Regions from separate parts of the Homo sapiens genome. Here region 2 is linked to region 1. Evidence: promoter capture Hi-C in 16 types of primary human blood cells and fetal thymus (Javierre and others, 2016). All regions are on one chromosome and are shown on one strand. Each heading gives the region's core, a stretch centred on a gene start or on the middle of the fragment in contact. The rest is flanking DNA. Distances are from core to core; before and after follow the strand shown.

Region 1 (5,170 bases), core at 1,979-4,478:
GGAGTGAAAGATGCGTGTAAGCATCTGAGTTTATACTAGGGAAAGGAATTTTACGTCCAGGTATGCTTTTTTTTTTTTTTTTTTGAGACGGAGTCTTCCTCTGTCGCCCAGGCTCACTGAAACCTCCACCCTCCGAGTTCAAGTGATTCTTGTGCCTCAGTCTCCCAAGTAGCTGGGGCTACAGGCAGGCCCCACCATGCTTGGCTAATTTTTGTATTTTTTTAGTAGAGACGAGGTTTCACCCATGTTGGCCAGGCTGGACTTGAACTCCTGACCTCAAGTGATCCACTCGCCTCGGCTTCCCAAAGTGTTGGGATTACAGACATGAGCCACCATACCTGGCCTTGGGTATGCATCTTTGGAGAAAGAGCCAGATAAAGGATGCAAATCTGAAAGTGGTCTGCATTTAGGTGGTAACTGAATCCGCAAGAAATGGTGCAATGGCTGGGGAGAGTATCAACTGAGAAGAGCAGAGGGCCTTGGACCAAGCACCAAGGAACTCTCAATATGTAAGGATTCTGTGCAAGAGTCTGGTTTCAAACCTGGCTGATCATTAGAATCACTTGGGAAACTTTTAAAATGTGAATCTACAGGAGCATGTGACTATATATTTTGAAAAACCTGTAGTAGCATTAGAGACCATTTGGTAACAGAAGACTGGCCAGGAAAGAGGAAAACAAAAAGATGGTGATGTTTCAGATACCAAGGGAAGAATTTCAGAAAGAAAGGAATCAGACAAGATCAGGCCTGAATTTAGTAACAGGAAACCAGATGGCGGTGCATCCACTTGTCTGACTCCTTAAAAGTAGGGAGTTGGTGTTTGAACTCAATAAGGGATGACAGGAAGCAGCCCAGCAGGTCCCCCTGTGCTCACGTGCACAGCGTGAGGACAGGGAAAGGGAAGGGGAAGGAAGGTGTGTCAGATGGCAGAAAGCTTTTCATTGGAAGTAGCATCTGAACTGAGGCAAAATGGATGGTAATCAGGCAAGGAGCTAAGCATTCCCAGGAGAGGAAATAATAGAAACAAAAATATGACAAGCTAAGAAAACATATACATTCTAGGAAATAGAGTTAGTCCTTGGCTGGAACACAAGGAATTAAGTGTTGGGAACCAAGCAACAGAATGGGGCACAGCCCAGTTGTTGTTGTTGTTGTTGTTGTTGTCGTTTTGAGGCGGAGTCTTGCTCTGTTGCCAGGCTGGAGTGCAGTGGCACGATCTCTGCTCACTGCAATCTCCCGGGTTCAAGCGATTCTCCTGCCTCAGCCTTCTGAGTAGCTGGGATTACAGGCGCATGCCACCATACTCAGCTAATTTTTGTATTTTTAGTAGAGACGAGGTTTCACCGTGTTGGACAGGATGGCCTTTATCTCCTGACCTTGTGATCTGCCCGCCTCAGCCTCTCAAAGTGTTGGGATTACAGGTGTGAGCCACCGCGCCCGGCCCAGAGCCCAGTCATTAAGGACCTTGTATGACAAGCCAAAACGTTCTTACCCTGAAGGTAAAAAAAAAATTTTACCCTGAAGGCAAAAGGGCCCTGAAGAATGTAAGAAAGTAAGTGGTATGATTATATTTGTAATTTAGAAATCCCATTCTGGCAGCCAGTGTGAAGGATGGTCTGGGGTCAGGAATGGATAAGGGAAAGATGGCGGCCGAAACGTCCATCTGGAGGCTGTTGCTGAGATGTAGACATGGGATACAGATTCACCAGGGCAGGAGCCGTGAAGGAGAGAAGCGAGCTGAGGAGGTGAGGAATGGGAGGAGGTGGGGACAGTAGAGTTTGCTTAGGTGACTGGCTTGTTGGAGGTGAGTCCTTGAGTTAAGGAATGAGGAAAAGACTAGCTTTAGATGAGGATAGGGATGGAGATGGGGTGTGGGAAAGAACATTTCAACACTGGTAGGCTTATTCCTTTCTCTAAAGGAAAAAATATGTCAGTAACAATATTGCAAGTTTCCCTAACTGCTCCTTCTCTCTCACCTCTAAGTCATTGTGCAGCCTGTTTATTTCAAATATCAAGACTCATATACATCAACTTCCTGTATTCAAACATAGTAGCTTCCACCAATCACTGCAGGGAGTTAGTTCATTCGTTAAATACATCATTAAAAATACTTATAATGCACCAATGACTTGCAAGGTACTGTGATTGGGGGGACTGATAAGTTAACAAGACATAACTGACCCTTCCCTCATACAGATTACATTCTAGCAGGAGCCAAAAAAGACATTAACCATCCGATTATAAATCATTTAGTTATATGATGTCGCAAAGGTTCTGTAAAAATATAGGGTAGAATGAGGCAAAGAACAAGGCGGGTAGGGGGACTCAGGTTCCTAAATAGGTTTTAGTAGATCTGTGACCTCCCTGAAATCTGTAAAATTTTGTCTGTGTCTGTATACATTTAATGGGGTGGTGGGGAGGTGGGGGTGTGCGGCAGGGATAGGAAGCACAGATTCCATGCTCAAGAGTCTGTGAATCCTAAGAGATTAAGAACCGGCCGGGCGTGGTGGCTTACGCCTGTAATCCCAGCACTTAGGGAGGCCGAGGCGGGCAGATCACCTGAGGTCGGGAGCTCGAGACCAGCCTGACCAACATGGAGAAACCCCGTCTCTACTAAAAATACAAAATTAGCCGGGCATGGTGGCACATGCCTGTGATCCCAGCTACTCGGGAGGCTGAGGCAGGAGAATCGCTTGAACCCGGGAGGCGGAGTTTGCAGTGAGCCGAGATCGCGCCATTGCACTCCAGCCTGGACAACAAGAGCGAAACTCCGTCTCAAATAAAAGAAAAAAAAAAAGGGAGAGATTAAGAACCACTCTACCCTTCATGTCCATTTGGGCGCTATTTATATACAAACCTTTTCCGCGTGGGAAGGCAGGGAGGGATAGAGGGAGAAGCCAGTAGCTTGGCGGTCTACTGAGAACGACCCCAGCTTTAGGCTTACAGACATCAAAAGTAATCACTCTTCTATATGAGAAAAGACAACACGCTCATTAATTTTTTAAAACGTAGTTACTTAAAAAGATTGGGAGATTTTCTATTCCTCTATCAATGGGGATTTCCAGGCACGTGCCCCACCCAAGGCCCACGCCCAGAGCGCCCGAGTGGCAGGACAACGCCCGCTGACATCTTCCCGTCCCGACGGCACAGGCTACTCCGAGCTCCGCCTTTTAGATTGCACCGAGAGAAGCCAGCTACAGCTTGGAGTCCAGGCCGGGTTTTCAAGCATCAAGACGGAAGTAACAGCGGAAAGGAAGTTCCAAGGCCCGCGCTGGGAAAAAGGTGGGGGGACCAGGGGAAGACTCGGAGTGCGATGGCGGCGCAAATTCCAATTGTGGCCACCACTTCCACTCCCGGAATAGTCCGGAACAGCAAGAAGAGGCCGGCCAGCCCTTCCCACAATGGCAGCAGCGGCGGGGGCTATGGCGCCAGTAAGAAGAAAAAAGCGTCCGCTTCCAGCTTTGCGCAGGTACGCAGTCGCGCTCCCAGGCTGCGCGTGCGCGTCGCGAAACGGGACTTGGCGGGGCGGAGCCGAGCCAGGGCGCGTGCGTAATGTGGGGCGCTGCGCGTGCGGTCTCCGTTGGGGTTGAAAGACGCTGCCCCGCGGAGTGAATGACTACTCTTTCCCTTCGTTTGGACACATGGGCTTACAACGCCTTGTGTTGTAAGGAGAGAAGAAGAAGTAGGGAGGTTATTACTGACTTAGTATTAATAGAAGGACTGCCTCTTCCCCTCGAGGTCGCCTTTAGCATGAGGTTCAGGACTAATGAGTGTCAGTCATTCAGAAATTTGCGTGTCTTCCCCTCGTCCATTCTGCAGACATCTACCCAGTGTCTTTGAGGCGCATAGCGCTGTAATGTCCTGCATGGATGAATACAAGATGTATTGATAAGTATGCTTTCTCTCATCCTGAGAAAAGTGCTTTTTTGACCCTGGGTTTCCCAATCCAAAGGCAGGTTTGGTCTTAACTCATGGGCTTGTTAAGGTTATGAAGTAATGAGTGTAAAGGCACTGAGCTCAGCGCCTGGCTCAGACGTCAGGGCCTCTGAACAATCTAGGTTCCGTAATTCCAGCAATGAATTTTCAGCAGGGAGTGGCTTGATTAGTGTTTTCTCTGGCTCCTGCATTTTATTCAAAGCAAAAAAGCAGAGATAGAGTGTGTTACTTTGTGCTCCTCAGCATATGGTGTGACACCACCGTTCACCCAGTCAGTCAGTGGCTGTTCTAGAAATCTTGTTCCTTCTTCTGTAGGTGATTGGTAGTGCTTTTTATTTTAACCTTTTAATATTAAATACTTTGCTATAGTAAGATTTACACAGAGTACAATGCACAAATTTTCAAGAATACTGGCTGAACCACAGATCTTCAAGAATCCTGTCTCACGCCTGTATCCCAGCACTTTGAGAGGCCAAGGTGAGAGGATTGCTTGAGGACAGGAGTTCGAGACCTGCTCCCCAACCCCCATCCAAATTTACAAATAGCTGGGCGTGATGGTGCACGCCTTTAGTCCCAACTACAAGAGCATCACTTAAGCCCAAGATTTCAAGGTTACAGCGAGCTATGATCGTGCCATTGCAGTCCAGCTTGGGCAACAGAGTGAGCCTATCGCAAACAAAACAAAACAAAACAAAACTACAGATCCAGTGCCCTTTTACATTTGTATACACCTATGGCCACTGCCTGGATCAAGATAGCATTTCTAAGAGCAGGTGACATTTTCCTGTCAGTACTGTCTTTCCTTCCTAACAGTTACCCACTGTTCAGCCACCCTTCACAATAGACTGACTTTGGGTTGGAACATAATATAAATGGAATAATACAGGACAATAGGGAACATATTCTTTTGCATCTGTCTAGGTTCCTTTTTGAGACAATGTTTTTGAGAGTCGTTTAGTACATCTGTTGCATTGTATAAACATACACCCGATGAATATTTGAACGTTTACAGTTTTTGGCTTTGTGCAGAAGCTGCTCTGAACATTCTTGTACAAGTCTTTGTGTAGATAGATGCTTTCATTTCTCTTGAGAAGTAGTGGAATTGCTGAGTCAGAAGGTAGGCATACATTTAACTCAGTAACTGTTAAACAGTATTTCTCAAAGTAGTTGCACTGTTTTTGCATTCTTACCGGCAAAGTATGAGAGTGCCAGTTGCTCGAAATCCTCAACAATA
Region 2 (5,170 bases), core at 1,481-3,980, 470 kb after region 1:
AATTCCAGTCTCACTGGGACAGATCCTATCTGCCTTCAATGATGCAATGAAATCATGAATGAGAAATAATGGCTTGCAGTATAAAGAGCATGCACAGTGAACATTATTTTGTTTGCTCCTCCCTCTTTCGGGAAATTATTTCTTCAATCCTTGTGGTTGTAGCAGAGCTTGCCAAATATAATTATTCCATCCTCCAGACCCTGAGGATTGATGCAGAGATAGGCCTATGACCCAAATCAGGTCATTTAGAATAGTTCTCTAGGTTTTTCTAAAATTAGAGCTGTAATGTGTATGTGTTTGGGGGGTTGGGGGATGTTATCTTCCTTATAAAAGTTAGTACTGGGGAATTAAGAAAATATAGTATACATTATATATTTACTATATTTTGCATAGAAGAATAGCAAAATTCAGAGTTCATGGTTTTGATGCATATGCTTTGGATTTGAATCCAAGTGCTTACAAGTTGTGTAACCTTGGCCAAATTACTTAACTCCTCTAGCTTCAGCTTCTTCACCCATAAAACAGGTATAATAAGATTTGTAAGGTAACATTTTGAGATATAAACCTAGGTTCCTGCCTTGCCCCTGTGGCCATAATTTTTTCTTACCCTTCCATTCTAGAGGTTGGATTTATTTCTCCTCCCTTTGAATCATGGTGGCAGCTTTGATCAATAGATTTTGGTAGAAATGATGCCGACCAGTTCTTGACCTAGACCTTACAATGACAGGCAGCTTTTGCCTTTGTCTCTTAAAGGTCAGCTGCCCTGTGAGAAGTTCAGCTACCCTGGGACTACCATGCTGCTCTGTAAGAAGGCAGGTCTGCTGCCCTGTGAGAAGTCTAGCTACTCTGGGGGAAGTACCAACCATGTAGAGAGGCCCAGAGGGTGGGACACATGGAGAGGGAGGGGAAGAGAGGAGAGACCACAAAGAGTACCAAGGCTCCAAATATGTGACTGAGGAAGCATCCTGCATCTTCACCCACCACAGCTGACACTATATGGATATATGGATTAGAAAGGACCCACCTAACCAAGACCTTCCTGAACTCCTGGTCCACAAAACCATAATGTAGGACAAATGGTTATTTTAAGTTAATAAGTTTTGTGGTAGGCTGTTATGCATTAACAGATAACAGAAAAACCCTGTTGGTTCTCTATTGTGACTCTAAACTTGGTGGATTAAAATAGCAATAATCATTTTATTATTATCTCTTGTCATTCTGGAGGTTGACTGGGCTTGGCTAGGTGGTTGTCACCCATGGTCTCTCATGTAGCTATGGTTGGAAGGTGACTGACTGCTGAAGTCTTCATAAAGGCTTCCTCAGTCTCATGACTGGTGGCTGACGTTGCCTTTTAATTGGGGCCTCAGCTGGGGCTCTGGTTGGAACACCTATGCAAGGCTTCCCCATGTGGCCTGGGCTCCTCACAGCATGGTGGCTGGGTTCCTAGCACAAGCATCCCTAATGAGCAGGCAGAAGGGCATGGCAGTTTTAAAACCTAGTCTTGGAAGTCACAGAGCATCACTTCCATTGTATTTTGCTGGTCAGGGCTGCCACAAAGTTCCACCCAGATTCAAGAGGAAGGGCTATCAACACCACTGGTAACATAACTAGGAGGAATGTCAATCTCACACTGCAAGAAAACCTGTGGGATGGGAGAGATTGTAGTAACCCACTTTGGAAAACCTGCCACACACACCTGCTGAACCTTCTTTACTCGCTGAGTTTTCAGCATGGGGCAGGAATGCAAGAGAGGAAGAAAAGAATGAATGTTCAACTTCGGAGTTTCAAAATCAACTTGTAAGCCCATGGCAGAGAAAAAACCCTGAAGAAATGTTTATGAGCCTCAGAGTCTCATTTTCAAGTATCAAAAGCTTAAGATCTTTCAAAGATTCAGAAACTAAAGTTCGTACTATAAGCCACAAGACTACATGACTGGTTAGAGATGTTGGGTTAGGAGCTGGTGAGTGTCCTTGAAGAGGGACTCTGCCTGCTCTCCTATCCCCAGCCATGCCCATGGGAATTTGAGAGTAGAGGGAACCTGTCCTCTGCTTTATATCTGGAAACTGAGGGATGCCAAAGCCACACAGAAGGTCCCTAGTCACCTTGGCACAGGAACAGCGGGGTACAGATGCAGGTAAACTGTTTAGGGCAACAGCAGTTTTTCCACAGAGCTAGCAAATATTTTTGGGGAGGGAGAAAGAACAAACCTGACCCCATGTGGTAGTGACAAACATCAACAGAAAAGAACAGGCCTCTGCAGACTGCGCCTGTTTTCATGGGGAGGGTTGCCATGGAAGCAACTAAAAAAAAAAAGTCAAATCTCCATTCAGGTTTCCAAAAGCACCTTGTAAAAATGTGAGACTGTGGTGTGGTGTCCATATTCATCGCTGCATTCTCTCACTTGCTGAATAAGCAGGTCAGAGGCATGCACAGAAATTAGGTTGCGGCCATTGGTTTAGACAATACACAGTACATTTAATGAGGAAGCTTCTCTCCTACTTGGCTCCCTCTCCAGATCTCCTGCTTGAGCTAAACTGATAGCCAGCACTTAGCTTTGAATCCTCAGAATGTTTTTCCCTCTCTACCCATCTGTCTGATTCAGACATCATACCTGTTCATTTCACAGGGGGACAGGTATGTCCTGCCCATTCCTCTCCCGCTGCTCACACCCTGCTTCAGACACGCTCCTTCCTCTCACCTACCTCATGAGTCTCTCTAGAGAGGTTTCCTTGCTTCACAATCAATTCACATCTCACCACCAGCTCTATCTTCCCTCCTTTCATTTTTAGAAGTCTTCAGGGGTTCCCTATCATTTCAAGACAAAAATTCTAAGTTTTTCTTTTGGCACTGTAAAACCTAACTACCTTTAGAAACTTATGCCCCACCGTGTATAGAAAGAGTAAGATTGAATTTGGTTTCGGCCTAACCTGGAATGTTAGTTTTGCCACCTGGTATCAGCATAAGCAAAGCTTCCTCTGTACTTGGTAAACAAAGAGAAGAACCTGTAAACATTCCTATTTGGAATCCTTCATAAATGCTCTTGGAAGAATCTATTACTACATCTGATTATTCCACTGGACTATGTTCAGTGGAACTGCTAGACTTCTAAGCTACTGTTTGAAAATAACTTCAGCTTGCTTTATTAAAAAACTACAGAGAGGACGGCAATTTAGTGAAATGAATTCTGATGATGTAAATGTTAACAGTATCCGAGTTGTTACCTCTGAGTCCCTGTCCTCCTAGGGTGAAGAGCACATAGAGTTGGGAACATTCAGCCACGACTGTCTCATCTTTATAACTGCTTTAATTACAATCGAGTACATCATTAAAGTCAGAATCACAATGTTTTAAGCTCATTAAAATATCAGCTAAAAAATTCATAGGGGATTATTGGCTGGAAGAAATGAAAAGTTATAGCATTGCTATTTCCTATTGATGGTTAGAACATGCAAAGATCCACAGAGGGTAAGTTTTGAGGCTGGATGACAAGCTCCAAAAAAAGTTTCTTTGGCCAGTCACTTACATTTGGACACAACAGGCTGAACAGCAGCTTCACATTCTGCACGCAAAACACTCAACTCTGGGTAAAGTAAATCATTCCACAAGTGGCCTCCTTCCACATTCACAGTACTTGAGAAGAGTTCCTGAAACTTGGACACAGTGCTGTGGAGCAGAGCCAAGAAACTTCACAGTGGTTATGAAACAGCTGCAAATCCATGCTTATGTCATGCTTTGTACAAATACTCTATAAAGGACACATTTGATCAAGAGTAGAAATATGGCTTTGCTAGTACTAATCAAGGTGAGAAGCTGGATTTCACTAAAAAGACTTCAGAATAACCCTCTAGTGTTTCCCAATTATATAATTCTAAAATTTATAGTTAACCTGTATTTTTTTATATTTTTCTCACTCACCCTCCAAGCAAATTCATCATTGTATTAATAGCTACTCACAACATGGAGAAAGAAAACAAGCAGCAACGAATTAAAGAATCAGTCCCCTCAGAGGTTAGCACTAGTTTATCTGACAAAAGAGAATGTCCTATAGCAATGAGAGATGTTGCCATCCTTAACATTGTCTATGATATAAAGGACAATACTAAATTTACTGAAAAGGTCTATTTCTAAATTCCCCTTGAATATCAGCCAGGCAAATGTAAGAACCAAATTTTTGCATGATTATAATTCTCTCCAAAATGGGAAATGAAGGTTAAATTAACTTTCAGATCCTGATCTGCAGATACTCGTAGTAAATTTTATTCATCTTCAGATTCTCTTCTTCATTTACTGAATAAAAGCAAGTTATATCGTTATCAATAGAACTGAAATAGGTTCATTTGCATAAAATGCTTTGTTCTACTTCATTCTGAAGAAAACAGCATTTATAGTCAAAAGGCTTTCAGCAACTATTGCAAAAGATACTTCATGAGTCAAGGATGCTGTCAGAGCATGAATAAAAGGGAGAGGGACACAGAGTTCATCATTTACAGAGGGGTTGGAGAAAATCTCTATTCCTCCTAGTTTCAAGTTAGGAGTTTAAAAACCTTTAGGAACGAGGACAAAGACCTGAAAGTTGCTAAAAATCCCAGCTCATGGTACCAGAACAAGATAGCTCCAGAACTCTGAGTGCTTCTAATGCAATAACACTTGGGCACTTTCCCCCTGCTACAAACCAAATCATTGAAAGGTGTCTGATAGAGCCAGCATACACTGTTAGCCTGAAGCATCAACGCTTTGTTTATATGAACATTATGACCAAAAAATTATGTTATTTAACTTATTTTTTACTGTGCCCTACGGTGGTTCTTTATGGTAGTATATTTGACATTTGTGATTAAATAAAAAACAAATTTAGGTTGTCATATTCTTATTACGGTACATACTTGACAATATTTGACAATATAGTAAAATGGTTATATTTTGATTCCTCAGCTATCCTGGAGACATAGTACTCAGTGAAAAACAGCAAGGCATCAGTAAATAAAAAAATTAAGAATTATCCTGGGCATCATTTAGTCAGTGGCTTCAGTTTCAATTATCTCTTTAATGAATCTAAAAATATTATTCATCTTTGCTTCATATTCATTTTTTAACCTGTCCTCTTCAGAACATCTACTGGACCACCAAATCTTACCAATTCTTCTCCAATTGCCTCTCTCAATCTTTCATT

What was found. Contacts are between HindIII fragments. The CHiCAGO score rates a contact against its expected background, and 5 or more counts as called.
Region 2: a fragment that was not itself captured here is called in contact with the fragment with the promoter of INO80C in region 1 in 1 of 17 cell types (fetal thymus); the score reaches 5.6 in fetal thymus.

What each region holds. Positions count from the first base shown.
Region 1 is chr18:35,496,018-35,501,187 of GRCh38, reverse strand. It overlaps INO80C (INO80 complex subunit C), which reads left to right and starts at 3,228. Exons shown (of 5, transcript NM_194281.4): 1 at 3,228-3,469. The coding sequence starts at 3,314. RefSeq lists enhancers at 3,051-3,320, 3,671-3,790, 4,061-4,210. The HindIII fragment of the contact is 4,638 bases long and covers 937-5,170 here.
Region 2 is chr18:35,023,652-35,028,821 of GRCh38, reverse strand. It overlaps a transcript of MAPRE2 not described here. Among named protein-coding and RNA genes, the nearest start is that of MAPRE2, 15 kb to the left of the region's middle. The HindIII fragment of the contact is 482 bases long and covers 2,490-2,971 here.